2 separate regions of the Homo sapiens genome follow, and region 2 is linked to region 1. Evidence: promoter capture Hi-C in human tissues and cell types (Jung and others, 2019). All regions are on one chromosome and are shown on one strand. Each heading gives the region's core, a stretch centred on a gene start or on the middle of the fragment in contact. The rest is flanking DNA. Distances are from core to core; before and after follow the strand shown. Region 1 holds the start of USP6 (ubiquitin specific peptidase 6). Region 2 overlaps ANKFY1 (ankyrin repeat and FYVE domain containing 1).

Region 1 (6,472 bases), core at 1,402-3,901:
TACAGATGAGAAAACTCAAGACTCAGAAACAATAAAGGTTACAGAGATGAAATTGACAGAGCCTGAATTTCAGTATGTCAAACTTCAATGTGCCATTATACTTTTAAATCCTACAGAACAGATTGAATCACAACTTCTACTTTTACATGAGAGAAGACAATGGGTCCTATGACTTACTGTCAGTTTCCTTTTCCTGATTTAATTAGCTGCTTCTGTATCTAATTTTGCTAGGAATGGAGGAATAAGGCAAATTCCCTAAACTACATATTGACATTTATACTAATGTGAAAACCTCAAGTCCATTTGCAGACTTTTGGATTAGATTCTGTCCCAGAAAGACATCCACCCTAGAGTTCAGGATATCATACCCATTTTACTGTTCCCCTGGCACAATTCATAGTAAGGAAAAACAGACAAGGGGAAAGCTATTAGATTCTCGGTGCTGCTAAACAGGACACACAAGGACACCATTTTGTGATGATGATGGTGCTTTATGCAGCTTCCACCATTTACAAGATTTTCCTGTGGTGTGGAACCTCTCATGATAAAGCAAAGGAACTAGAAGCTTATTCCAGTCAAGATTTCTGATTTATCTTGTGGTAAGCATTTGGGAAGGACATATCTGCACATGACCTGAGACTAAGTACTATACACTGAATCAGATGAAAATTGCTCTTAGGAAGCTTACAATTTTCCAAATAGTTAGGACAAAAACAAACTCTCCTTCTCTCTTCCTATATGTACATACTGACATCTTTATCATTACTGTCTTCCTAGGGTTATGATTCTGTATGGTTTCTTTGGTGCTGCATTAGACCTGAGCTCTGATTGAAAATTCTTCCACGCTCGCTACATTCCAAAACTTTATCTCCAATATGAATTTCCAGATGCCTCACAAGGTCTGAGCTCCATCTGAAGGCTTTCCCATGCTTGTCACATTCATAGGGCTTTTCTCCACTATGAATTCTATGATGTCGAATAAAGTGTGAGCTCTGATTACAAGTCTTTGAACATTCATTGCATTCACAAAGTTTCTTTCCACTGTGAATTCTTTGATGCTGAATAAGTTGTGAGCTCCCCTTCAAATCTTTCCCACACCCAATGCATTTATAAGGCCTCTCTCTCACCTTGTATGGATTCTCTGATGTTCTGTAAGGACTGAGTTCTGGCCAGGCGCAGTGGCTCACGCCTGTAATCCCAGCACTTTGGGAAACCGAGGCGGGTGGATCAGCTGGGCTCAGGAGTTCGAGACCAGCCTGGCCAGCATGGTGAAAGCCCCTCTCTACTAAAAATACAAAAATTAGCCGGGTGTGGTGGTGGGTGCCTGTAATCCCAGCTAATTGGGAGGCTGGGGCTGGAGAATTACTTGAACCTGGGAGGTGGAGGTTGCAGTGAGCCGAGATCGGGCCACTGCACTCCAGCCTGGCAGCAGTGTGAGACTCCGTCCCAAAAAATAACAAACAAACAAAAAAGACACCAGAGGGCTTTGGGTCCCTCTCTCTCTGCCATGTGAGGACCCTGTGAGAAGGCAGCCAGGGAGCTCTCACCAGAACCTGACCATGTTGGGCCCTGGTCACAGCCTTGCAGCCTCCAAAACTGAGAAAATAAATTTCTGTTGTCTGGCATCCAGTCTATGGTATTTTGTTACGGCAGCCCGAGCTAAGACAGAGGAAAACTGGGGGCTGATGTGACGGCGGGGACTTTAGGTAGAAGGACCCCACGTCAAAAGTCAAAGCTAAAAATTCTGGAACGAGCCAGGAAGGCATCAGGACGTCTCATTTTATTTGCTAGAGGCATCTTTTGGGGGGTGGGGCGGTGGGTGGGTGGAAGGAGATGTGGCCAGTGAGCCTCTGACTTTTAATTGAGTTATTTCGAAACAAGGAACAGAGGGCCGGATGTGGTGGGTCGTGCCTGTAATTCCAGCACTTTGCGAGGCCGAGGCCAGTGGATCACCTGAGGTCAGGAGTTCAAGACCAGCCTGGCCAACATGGTGAAACCCTCTCTCTACTAAAAATACAAAATTAGCCTGGCGTGGTGGGGGGCGCCTGTAATCCCAGCTACTCGGGAGGCTGAGGCGGGACAACAGCTTTAACCCGGGAGGCGGAGGTTACAGTGAGCCGAGATGGCGCCACTGCACTCCGGCTTGGGCAACAGAGCAAGACTCCGTCTCCAAAAACACACACACACACACACACAAAACCCAAAACGGAACAGAGGCAGTTCTGTATTCCAGAGGGATTGATTTGTGATGCCTGCTCAAAACTCAAGAAGCCACCACCCTGATACTCATCAAACCCCGGAGAAATTTCGTTTTTAGAGTGTCAGAAGGCCCCATGAATAACCTTCCAGTCACTGAGGGAGGTCCCTACTCAGCACGCCCCGGTCTCCTTCACTCTCCTGCACTCGTGCCTCACAGATGGCCTCATGCGCGGACTGGCGGTCCAGCCTCCCGGGGACACAGCCCGGGCGCACCCCGCGCCGCCTTTGGCCACTGAGGCGGTCCTCGAGGCGCCGGGCTAGGGAAAGCCTCCCCGGCCGTCAAGGCTGGGATAGCGCCGGGGGATCGGGGCGGGGTGCGTGCGCCGAAAGGGCCTCAAAGCTGTAGGGCTGGACGGCACAAAGGGGCGCAAGGCACGGAGGCCAGGCAGAGGGGACAGCTAGCGGCGCGGCGGGACGGGCGGGCCCCGACGCCCAGCTCCAAATGCGTGGCCGCTGTGGGAGCTCGTCTCCAGGCGCCCATCAGTCTTCCCCTCACTCGACGCTACCTTGGCGGCCGCGCCCATGCTGTCCCCGCTCCAACTAGCAGTCAGGAGGGGCCGCGGGCAGCGCTCGAGACGCTCATTGAGAGGACTTCCCGCCTGCGGGCTCTCTGCTCGACGCCACTCCCGGCCCCGCTCCGGGCGGCCCCCCTCACCACTCCCGGCCCCGCTCCCGGCGGCCCGCCTCACCACTCCCGGCTTCCCGGGGCTTAGGCCCGCACCATCGAGTCGAACCGAGTCCTCATGTTTTCCTAGACAAGCCGCTGGGGGAGAGGGGAAACACTTCTGGCCCATGTGAGCCGCCGTCTCGTGTGGTGTCTGAGGGGCGTCTACCTGGAGTCACTGAGCCGACGAAAGGGAAAAGGCCAGTGCCTGTCCGGGAAGAGCTCAGCCTAGTGGGGCGGGCGACAAGTTACAGTTGCTGCCTTACGATGGCCGTGGCCCGTGGAGGCACTAGACCCTCACCAGGGGTCTGTCAGGAAAGGCGGGCAGATACGTGAGGCCTGAACAGGAAGGAACTGGGAGACCCAAGACTGTACCGCCAAGACCGCTTTCGAGTCGGGCCGACCGGAATTTGAATTCGTTTCTTCACTTACTAGTTGTGAGTCTTTGGGCAAATTTGCCTTTCTAGAGCGTAGTTTCTTATGTATAAAACAGGGTTAACAGTTGCACTCACTGAGGTAAATACAAGAGAAAATTGATGGTAAGTGCTTATCACGGTACCCAACACATAGCAAGTACTGAAAAGTGATGGAGCTAGGTACGGAGGGAGCAATCTTCACAGAGGGAACAGCTCGTGGAAAGGCCACAGGGCAAGAGGGCGGTGCCTACATTCTTGGGGAACTGCAGAGAGTTCATGGGTAAATAATAGGAAGGAAAGGTAAGTACTTTGCAGAAAGCCTTCCCCAGCTAGGTGAGACTCCCCACTGTAGTATCATATGCCTCTCCTTTTTGGCACTTATGGTTGCAACTTTATTAATGATTCTAATTAGTTTCTCTTCTACAATTATAAGTTCCATCAGGCCAGAGACTTGTCCATTTATGCTCACCCTGCTTTGTAGCACCCGCTGCTTAACACATATTAAAAGCTCGATAAGCCTGGGCGAGGGGGCTCAAGCCTCTAATCCCAGCACTTTGGGAGGCCGAGGCGGGTGGATCATGAGGTCAGGAGTTTGAGACCAGCCTGACCAACATGGTGAAACCCCCTCTCTACAAAAAATACAAAAATTAGCCGGGTGTGGAGGCACACACCTGTAATCCCAGCTACTCAGGAGGCTGAGGCAGGAGAATCACTTGAACCCGGGAGGCAAAGGTTGCAGTGAGCTGAGATTGCACCACTGCACTCCAGCCTGGGCGACAGAGCGAGACTCCGTCTCAAAAAAAAAAAAAAAAAGCTCAATAAATATTTACAGCACAAGTGAATAAATGGGGTCGCATCAGAATATATATGTCACAATAAGGACTTTGGACTTCAGGCTGAAGTTAGTGGGAAATCACTGTGGAAATTTAGAGAGGGGGATGGCACTATCAGATTTGTTCTGAAGGAAGAACATTCCAGCTGCCCTGTAGAGAAGCGTTGGAATCAGGGAGGCATGTTAGGAGGCTGCGATAATAGTACAAGCAAGAGATGATGGTGGCCTCACTCTAAGGGCATTAAAAATCAAGACAAGTGAGGCCGGGTGGGGTGGCTCACACCTGTAATCCCAGGACTTTGGGAGGCCAAGGCAGGCAGATCACCAGGAGTTTAAGACCAGGCTGGCTAACATGGTGTTAGCTGGGTGTACTGGCATGCACCTGTAATCCCAGCTCCTCCCAGCTCCTCAGGAGGCTGAGGCAGGAGAATCACTTGAACCTGGGAGGCGGAGATTGAAGTGGGCCGAGATCATGCCACTGCACTCTAGCCTGGGCAACAGAGTGGGACTCCGTCTCAAAAAAAAAAAAAAAATCAAGACAAGTGGACTATATTGGCAGATTACTGGCTAGCATTCACTTATTCTACCATAGTCATGTGCTCTCTCCCTCAGGGATGGTAGTGACAGTCTTATTTCCTATTGATACAGGATTTTTTTCCTTGATTCCTTCGTGGGACTCAAGACAGGGGTGCCCTGTTTACTCAGCCCACTGTGCTCAACCTCTTGCAGGAGTGTGCAGGTGAGTGAGCAAGTGCAGGATCTGGCTGGCCACTACAGGCACCAGCATGAGCAAGCTCTTTGCGGAGCCTGTGACCAGACCAGGCATGAGCAAACGACTGCAGGATCTAGCTGGCTGCTCTGGGCAGCTGCAGGAGCAAGCTCCATTTGGGGTCTGCGGTGCTGCCCAAGTGGGGGTGCCTGTGATCCCAAATCCCCAGAGGGAGTGTTACAGTGCTCTCTTAGCGCCACTGTTTGAGGATGGGTATGTGTTAACAGCTCAGCTGGCCCCTAGCCCCATTGCGTGGGGTGGCTACCTGCCACTGGTGAGGGCAAAGGGTGAGTGTGACAGCCTTTTGGGTAGCCAAACTTGGTGGGTCCCAAGCTCTTGTCTGGCATCCAAAAAGAATGAGGTTGTGTGGAGCACTTGAAGGATGGTGAAGGTGGAGAATTTTACAGAGTGATCACAGTGGCTCTCAGCGGAGAGGGGAGCTAGAGAGGGGGTAGAAAGGGCAGGTCATCTTCTCCCCAAAGTCTGGCCATTTCTTCCCGAAAGTCTGGCCATCTCTCTCATCTACTGACTGAGTCTGGGGTCTTTATAGGCACAGGATGAGGGTGGGGCAGCCATAGGTATTTTTGGAAAAGGCAACATTTGATTGGTAAGAAGACATTATTCAGAAAGAACCAATCGGGAGGGAGTAAGCAAACAGGAATAGAAGTTCTCACTTTGGGCTGTGGGTTTCAGGCTTTTCGGCTCAAAGATGGGGTTTCACTGGGGGCCTGCCACATCTGCTTAGAATTTCTCAACTTCATGTCCTGCCTCTATCACTATCAAGTATTTATATGAAGAAACCTCTCCTAAGCCACACTCCAATCACCCCTCTTCCTCAAAGAGATTATCAGACTCTGACTTTTTCTCAGTTTTGGTCCTCTTGGAGTTTGGTTCTTTAGCTGTTTAAAATCTTATGAAGGCAAACTTTGATCATTTAGGCTCTTTTCTCAAAGTTCCAAAGTAGACTGCTCCCTAACAGGTAGGTTTTATTTTGTGGAATTCAGGTTTACAAATTGGACATTACTACATTAGCTTCTGCTACCTATAAAAGCTTTGAATAGGTGGGCTTTTATTTCATGAATTACCTGATTATCTGAAAATTAACTCTTTTGTCCTTCTTCAGCCCCCACTAAAGTGAGGTCAGCTCAGGGAATGCAGCAGAAATTCACCTGGAAGCAAGCGAGGCTGGGGCCCAGAAACCCCCTGGGCTGGGCCATGCTTCCAGTCCAGTTCCCATCTTTTATGGATGCCTAGCCCTGACCCTCAGAGGACCCTGGGTGAGGCCTGGAGGAGCCCCTCTTCCCAAATAGACTTCATTTGTCCCTTGAGGCTCAGCTCACTGCAGTTAACTAACTAATGAGTAACTCAGTGTAAGAACACACAATGCTAATTATTATAATTAATTATAATAGTGATAGTCATTAAAACAAGGAACTTCTGCCCAGCACTACAAGTGACTCACAGCCATCATCTCAGCTGATAAACAGCTGGGAGAAAGATACTCTTTCTTCCTTTTGACCCGTGAAGAAACT
Region 2 (6,465 bases), core at 1,588-4,087, 860 kb before region 1:
TTTTTTTTTTTTTTTTTTTTTGAGACAAGAGTTTCTCTTGTCGCCCAGACTGGAGTGCAATGGTGTGATCTTGGCTCATGGCAACCTCTGCCTCCCGGGTTCAAGCAATCCTCCTGCCTCAGCCTCCTGAAGCAGCTGAGATTACAGGCGCCTGCCACCATGCCCAGCTAATTTTTTTGTATTCTTAGCAGAGACAGGATTTCGCCATGTTGGCCAGGCTGGTCTTGAACTCCTGACCTGAGGTGATCCCCTGGCCTCGGCCTCCCAAAGTGCTGGGATTACAGGCATAAGCCACCGTGCCCAGTCTCTTCATGTAATTCTTTAATGACTAAATGACTTTATACCTATTCTGCTTTAACTATGTCCATTAGATAAAAGAGAAATGATTGTAAAGGCTGTGATAACATTCTATTTGGAGAACTACAAGAATAATTTTTTGTTCCAGGCTTATATTAGGATCTTCCACAAAAAAATATTTCATTAAAGTGTCAGCTTCCCAGAAAATACTATCTTCCTTGGCATCAGATTAGAAAAGCTCTTCACTGGTGATTAATTACCACCACTACTACTTTTCTTTTTTTTTTTTCTTTTGAAACGGAGTCTCACTCTTGTCGCCCAAGCTGGAGTGCAATGGCGCGATCTCAGCTCACTGCAACCTCCGCTTCCCAGGTTCAAGCAATTCTTCTGCCTCAGCCTCCCGAATAGCTAGGATTACAGGAGTGCACCACCAAGCCTGGCTAATTTTTGTATTTTTAGTAGAGACGGGGTTTCACCATGTTGCTCAGGCTAGTCTCAAACTCCTGATCTTGTGACCTGCCCGCCTCGGCCTCCCAAAGTGCTGGGATTACAGGTGTGAGGCACCACGCCCAGCCCACAAATATGGATGTTTAAAAGCTCCCAGGTGGCCAGGCGCGGTGGCTCATGCCTGTAATCCCAGCACTTTGGGAGGCCAAGGCGGGCGGATTACGAACTGAGGAGATCGAGACCATCCTGGCTAACAGAGTGAAACCCCGTCTCTATTAAAAATACAAAAAATTAGCCAGGCGCAGTGGCGGGCGCCTGTAGTCCCAGCTACTCAGGAGGCGGAGGCAGGAGAACGGCGTGAACCCGGGAGGTGGAGCCTGCAGTGAGCTGAGATCGCACCACTGCACTCCAGCCTGGGCAATAGAGCGAGACTCCATCTCAAAAAAAGAAAAAACTCCCAGGTTAACTGTACTGTGCAGGGTTCTCCAGGTTGAGAACTATGTACTAATGGAACGAGGGAGAGAGGAAAGCACAGATGTGAGAGGTGTACAGCATCCGGGGGATTTGGTGACTGATGCAGATCTTGGGGGGAGTCGGAGATAACTTTTTGGTGACTGACTTGAGAGTCTGGCTGAAAAGTAGTGCCATTAATCATGAATATAGAAGAGAAAACCTGGTATAACTAGAAAGCAACATGCATGCTTATTTGAAATACTTTGCCTTCCCCTCTCTGTTCTGCAAGTTCCATTAAGGTTAAGGTTGTGTCTTGCTCATTTTGTCATCTCTGGCACAGTAGCTTGCACCTACCGTGAAATACGTTTTTCCTGAATGCAATTCAACTCTGCTAGGTTCGTCTGCCTCATGTTACAGTTGGTGGCATGACTTACACATCTTTCAAAAGCTCACCGTGTATAGCAGTGACAATTGGGCTGGTTTCATAAGAGATGCATAACAAATATTAGCTAACTAGCCATTTCCACCCCAAACTCCTGACTGGAAACACTTCCAACTTAGACATCACCACATAGAAGTATACTGGGCAAAGCAAATATGTCCAAAAGTGAGGTCAAAATACTTGTTCTCCAATCTATTCCTCCTCTACCTCTTAGCAGCTCAGCCATTTGTCTGAGTCATCCAGACCTAGAACTTGAGTCATCTTTGATTCTCTCTCATCAACATTCAACCAGGTTTCAAAAGTCCTGTCTTTCATACGTTCTGTGGTCTTTCTCCCATCAGTCCTCACCAGCCCCACAGCCTCTACCAAATGGCTCACCATCAACTGCTACAGCTTGCTCTCTGACTTCCTTTCTTCCCAATCCATCCTCTACACTGCAGTCATTTCGCCATGCCTCACACAATTCCTGTTCTGTCGCTACCGTGGCTGATTCCTTTCGGTAGTATCGCTCCATGAGTCTCAGAATAAAATCCAAATGCTGAACCAATGCCCTTAATAATCTGGCCCTTAACATACTCTTCCAACTTCACATCCCACTAATTCCTTCCACCTAGAACAGTGACCTCTCCTCAATCTCATGTCCCCATGTCCAAAGGAGGGCCATTTTTCAAAGCTCAGTTCAAGCAATGTCTCCTGCAACAAGACTTTCCCTGATTATCCAAAATACATTCCCCATTACTTCCTTAAAAAATCTCTCCCTGAGTTTTCAAAGTAACTCCTAAGCATTTTTTACCCTTCACCTTAAAATATAGTTTCTCATATACAATTTCTTTTATCTCCCCTCCTAGACTTCAGAACTCCCTGTGAATAAGCTTTAGTTCTGGCTATTCGTATTTAACTATCAATTACTTCTCCCTCTATACCCATTCCATGGTTATCTCCTCCTCCCGACAGTACCTTACCAGATGGAGTTCAATAAATACCACAGGTTCAACAGGAGATTCTGGGGACATAGCAATTTCTCATTTGGTTCAGCAAGGCTGTAAATCATGATAGTATCTCAAATTGCCTACAGCAAATCACCTTGCCAGTGACAGAATCCTGTGTATCTCAGCACAATTCAGTAGCTTTACTTTGACATAACCACTAATGGATAAATTTTATTTCTCAGTAAAAATAATTCACAAGGAGAAAGCTAACAGCTACAGCTGGTGACAGTAGTCACCAGGAAAGGGAGAGAAAAGAAAAGAATGGTATAAAAGGAACAGTCCTTAAGAGGTCTCTGGACTATATATAATTATCAATGACCTGGGACATTTGTTCAATAAGTAAAACAATAAACAGATAAATTTCAGAAGTAGGGCCGGGCGCGGTGGCTCACGCCTGTAATCCCAGCACTTTGGGAGGCCGAGGCGGGCGGATCACGAGGTCAGGAGATCAAGACCATCCTTGCTAACACGGTGAAACCTCATCTCTACCAAAAATACAAAAAATTAGCCAGGCTTGGTGGCGGGCGCCTGTAGTCCCAGCTACTCGGGAGGCTGAGATAGGAGAATGGTGTGAACCTGGGAGGGGAGCTTGCAGTGAGCCGAGATCGCACCACTGCACTCCAGCCTGGGAGACAGAGCCAGACTCCAACTCAAAAAAAAAAAAAAAAAGTGGAAACAGCAAAGTTCCTTCTTTCCTTATTTCTACCAGCCTCCACTAATGAAGCATTTTCTGGAACAGGACTATCCAAAGCACTTCTGGCAATGGTGCAAGTGTTCTATTAATCTGTGCTGTCCATTAGGGGGAGCTACTAGCCACATGGCTACTGAGTACTTGGAATAGGACTAGTACAACTGAGAAGTTAATTTTAAATTTTATTTAATTTTAATCAAATTTAAGTAGCCACATGTGGCTAGTGACTATTGTGTTGGTCAATGAATACCCAGGACATGGAATGTTTTCCCCATTTTGCTTGGGTTGTTGTCAAAAGTATTTTTCTGATCAAATTCCATCAAGCTAACAAAAGTTTATGATAAATTTTCTGTTCAATATACTATTTACAAAAAAATTACATTTTTTTCAATTTTTACTTTTACTGAGGAAAAGAAATGGAGAGTGATTTTAGAGGAGACTCAAGAGAAAGACTGTGCACCAGGGTGAAAGCATCAGGCGCTGTGGGAAAAGCATCAGTCGCTGTGGAAGAAACATTAGGCGCTGTGGAAAAAGGCTCTTCCTGCAACTGAGAAATATCCTAGGATTCCCACAGCTACTTGTGAGCTACAGATGATCCCCCTTTTAAAGCTGAGGACACTGAGACTGACAGCAATTAATTGACTTGCTTATGATCACAGCTTAAACTAGGATTTAAATCCATGTCCAGCTGCAGAGTCTGAGCTCTTAAACACTACATTTTATTTTATTATTATTATTTTTTGAGACAGTCTCTGTTGCTCAGGCTGGAGTGCGGTGGCGCGATCTCGGATCACTGCAACCTCCACCTTCCGGGTTCAAGTGATTCTCCTGACTCAAGTCTCCTGAGCAGCTGGGATTACAGGCACATGCCACCATGCCTGGCTAATTTTTGTATGTTTAGTAGAGATGGGGTTCCACCATGTTGGTCAGGCTGGTCTGGAACTCCTGACCTCAAGTGATCCGCCCACCTTGGCCTCCCAAAGTGCTGAGATTACAGGCGTGAGCCACCGTGCCCGGCCTTAAACATTGTATTTTAGTTGCTAAAACAAAAATGGGCTGGATGAAAAGTAGGTTAGGTAGCTCCTAGCAGACTTAGGTTATGCAGAGTATAATAAAAGGTGGACCAGCCAGTTTGCTTGACAAGAGGCTAAGGATGTATCCAGGCAACTTTTCTTGATGGCTAGCAGGTGATGCTCAATAAATTCATACATTCCTTCAACCACAGCCATGATTCTAAGCTGGGAGATACAGGAGTGAGCAAAACAGACCAAGTTCCTGCCCTCATGGGGTTTATATTCCAGTGAGGGATGCTCTCTAATGAGATGACAACTGAACAGACACTGAGTGAATAAAGTGGGTCAGTTGTGTGGAGAAACAGCGGAGGACTGTTCCAGGCCAAGGAAACTGCAGGGACAAAGACGCAGAGGTAGCAGCATGTCGGGCACACACAAAGAACGCAAAAAAGTCAGTGTGGCAGGGGCACAGTGAATGAAAGTAGGAAATAAGCTCGAAGTGTTAAGTGGGGCCCACACCCTGTTAATACTTAACAGAGAACTGGAATATATTTTAAGATTACGGAGAAGTGTGAGAGTTGGGCATTGAGGGGCAGGAGTATTAAGAAGAGTAGGAGAGACATGATCTGATTGATGTCTTAAAGGGAACACTAGAAACTGTGAAATTAGGCTGTGAGAGAGCAAAATCTAGGAGGAAAAGTTAAAAGCAAACTTTTAATTGGAACCTTTTGAAGTAGTTCACTTACAAACGAAGCTTAGGGCTGGGAGCGGTGGCTCACACCTGTAATCCCAGCACTTCAGGAGGCCCAGGCAGGTGAATGGCTTGAGCCCAGGAGTTCAAGACCAGCCTGGACAACATCACAAAACCCCAACTCTACAAAAAATACAAAAATTAGCCAATGTGGTGGCATGCACATCTGCACTCCCAGCTACTTGGGAGGCTGAAGTGAGGGAATCACTTGAGCCTGGGAGGTGGAGATTGCAATGAGCTGTGATCACGCCATTGTACTCCAGCCTGGGTGACGGAGTGAGATCCTGTCTCCAAAAAAAAAAAAAAAAAAAAAAAACCCACAAATGAAGCTTAGATTAAGCAGGATAGCCACAGAGATGTAGAGTTGGGGAATAAAACTAATTTTAGGACAGACTTTAGCTAAATATATATGGTCAAATGAATAGCCATGGATAGATGGAAGGAAAGAAGGTTGTTCTCTAAACAAGTCACATAAGAAGCTGTATCCTCAGTCTCTCACGATCCTATTTACTATTCCTAGGCACTATCTCCCACATTCTCACATGGCCAACCAACCATTATCAGGGAAGTTCCCATAGTGTGTTTACAGATCATTCAAGTTATATGACACAGATATCTGCTATTTATTTATATTTAAATAACTGTCTCCAAACAAGCATAGCAGGCTCTGAGAATCTGATTAAAGCACAAGCAGTAGTATTAATATCCCAAGAAACATTTTCTACCTAATCTTGCCTTCCTTTGCATAGCAAGCACCTTCAGATTAATAAGCTAAATGACCCAGAATGCCTCCTAGTTGAAGTCTGCAACATCGTTTCTAAAAAGCTTAAATCCCAACAAAAAGTTGGGACACAAAAGAGGTAAAAGAAAAACTGTGGCCGGCCGGGTGTGGTGGCTCACACCGGCAATCCCAGCACTTTGGGAGGCCGAGGCCGGCAGATCAGCTGAGGTTGGGAGTTCAAGACCAGCCTAGCCAACACAGTGAAACCCCATCTCTACAAAAATTAGCCGGGTATGATGGCGGGTGCCTGTAATCCCAGCTACTTGGGATGCTGAGGTGGAAGAATCGCTTGAACCCAGGAGGTGGAGGCTGTGGTGAGCCAAGATTGCGCTATTGCACTCCCGCCTGGGCAACAGAGCGAGACTCCCTCAAAAGGAAAGGGGAAGGGAAGGAAAGAAAGACTGTGAAGTCAGAACTTCATGACTGCTTACCTAGCTATCCCCCTGCTAATTTAACCCTGAAAGGATGTCTTCTTCGTGTGTTTATGGAGAGACACCCCACTGGCGAGATGTCTCTCAAGGCGCTTGCCGGATGATGAGTATGCTGACTCAGCCTGTATGAGCTCCTCAGGGCTGGAACCCGACTGCAAAGCACAGCAGGT

The links. Contacts are between HindIII fragments. The study calls those that stand out against the background at their distance.
Region 2: a fragment that was not itself captured here is called in contact with the fragment with the promoter of USP6 in region 1 in 1 of the 25 tissues and cell types used here (pancreas).

What each region holds. Positions count from the first base shown.
Region 1 is chr17:5,113,381-5,119,852 of GRCh38, forward strand. USP6 (ubiquitin specific peptidase 6) reads left to right here and starts at 2,652. Exons shown (of 38, transcript NM_001304284.2): 1 at 2,652-3,360; 2 at 4,820-4,910. ZNF232-AS1 (ZNF232 antisense RNA 1) reads left to right here. Exons shown (of 3, transcript NR_135658.1): 2 at 6-72; 3 at 778-1,002. It also overlaps a transcript of ZNF232 not described here. The HindIII fragment of the contact is 4,107 bases long and covers 1-3,337 here.
Region 2 is chr17:4,255,244-4,261,708 of GRCh38, forward strand. All of the region lies in intron 1 of ANKFY1 (ankyrin repeat and FYVE domain containing 1), which reads right to left. Among named protein-coding and RNA genes, the nearest start is that of ANKFY1, 5.5 kb to the right of the region's middle. The HindIII fragment of the contact is 5,645 bases long and covers 16-5,660 here.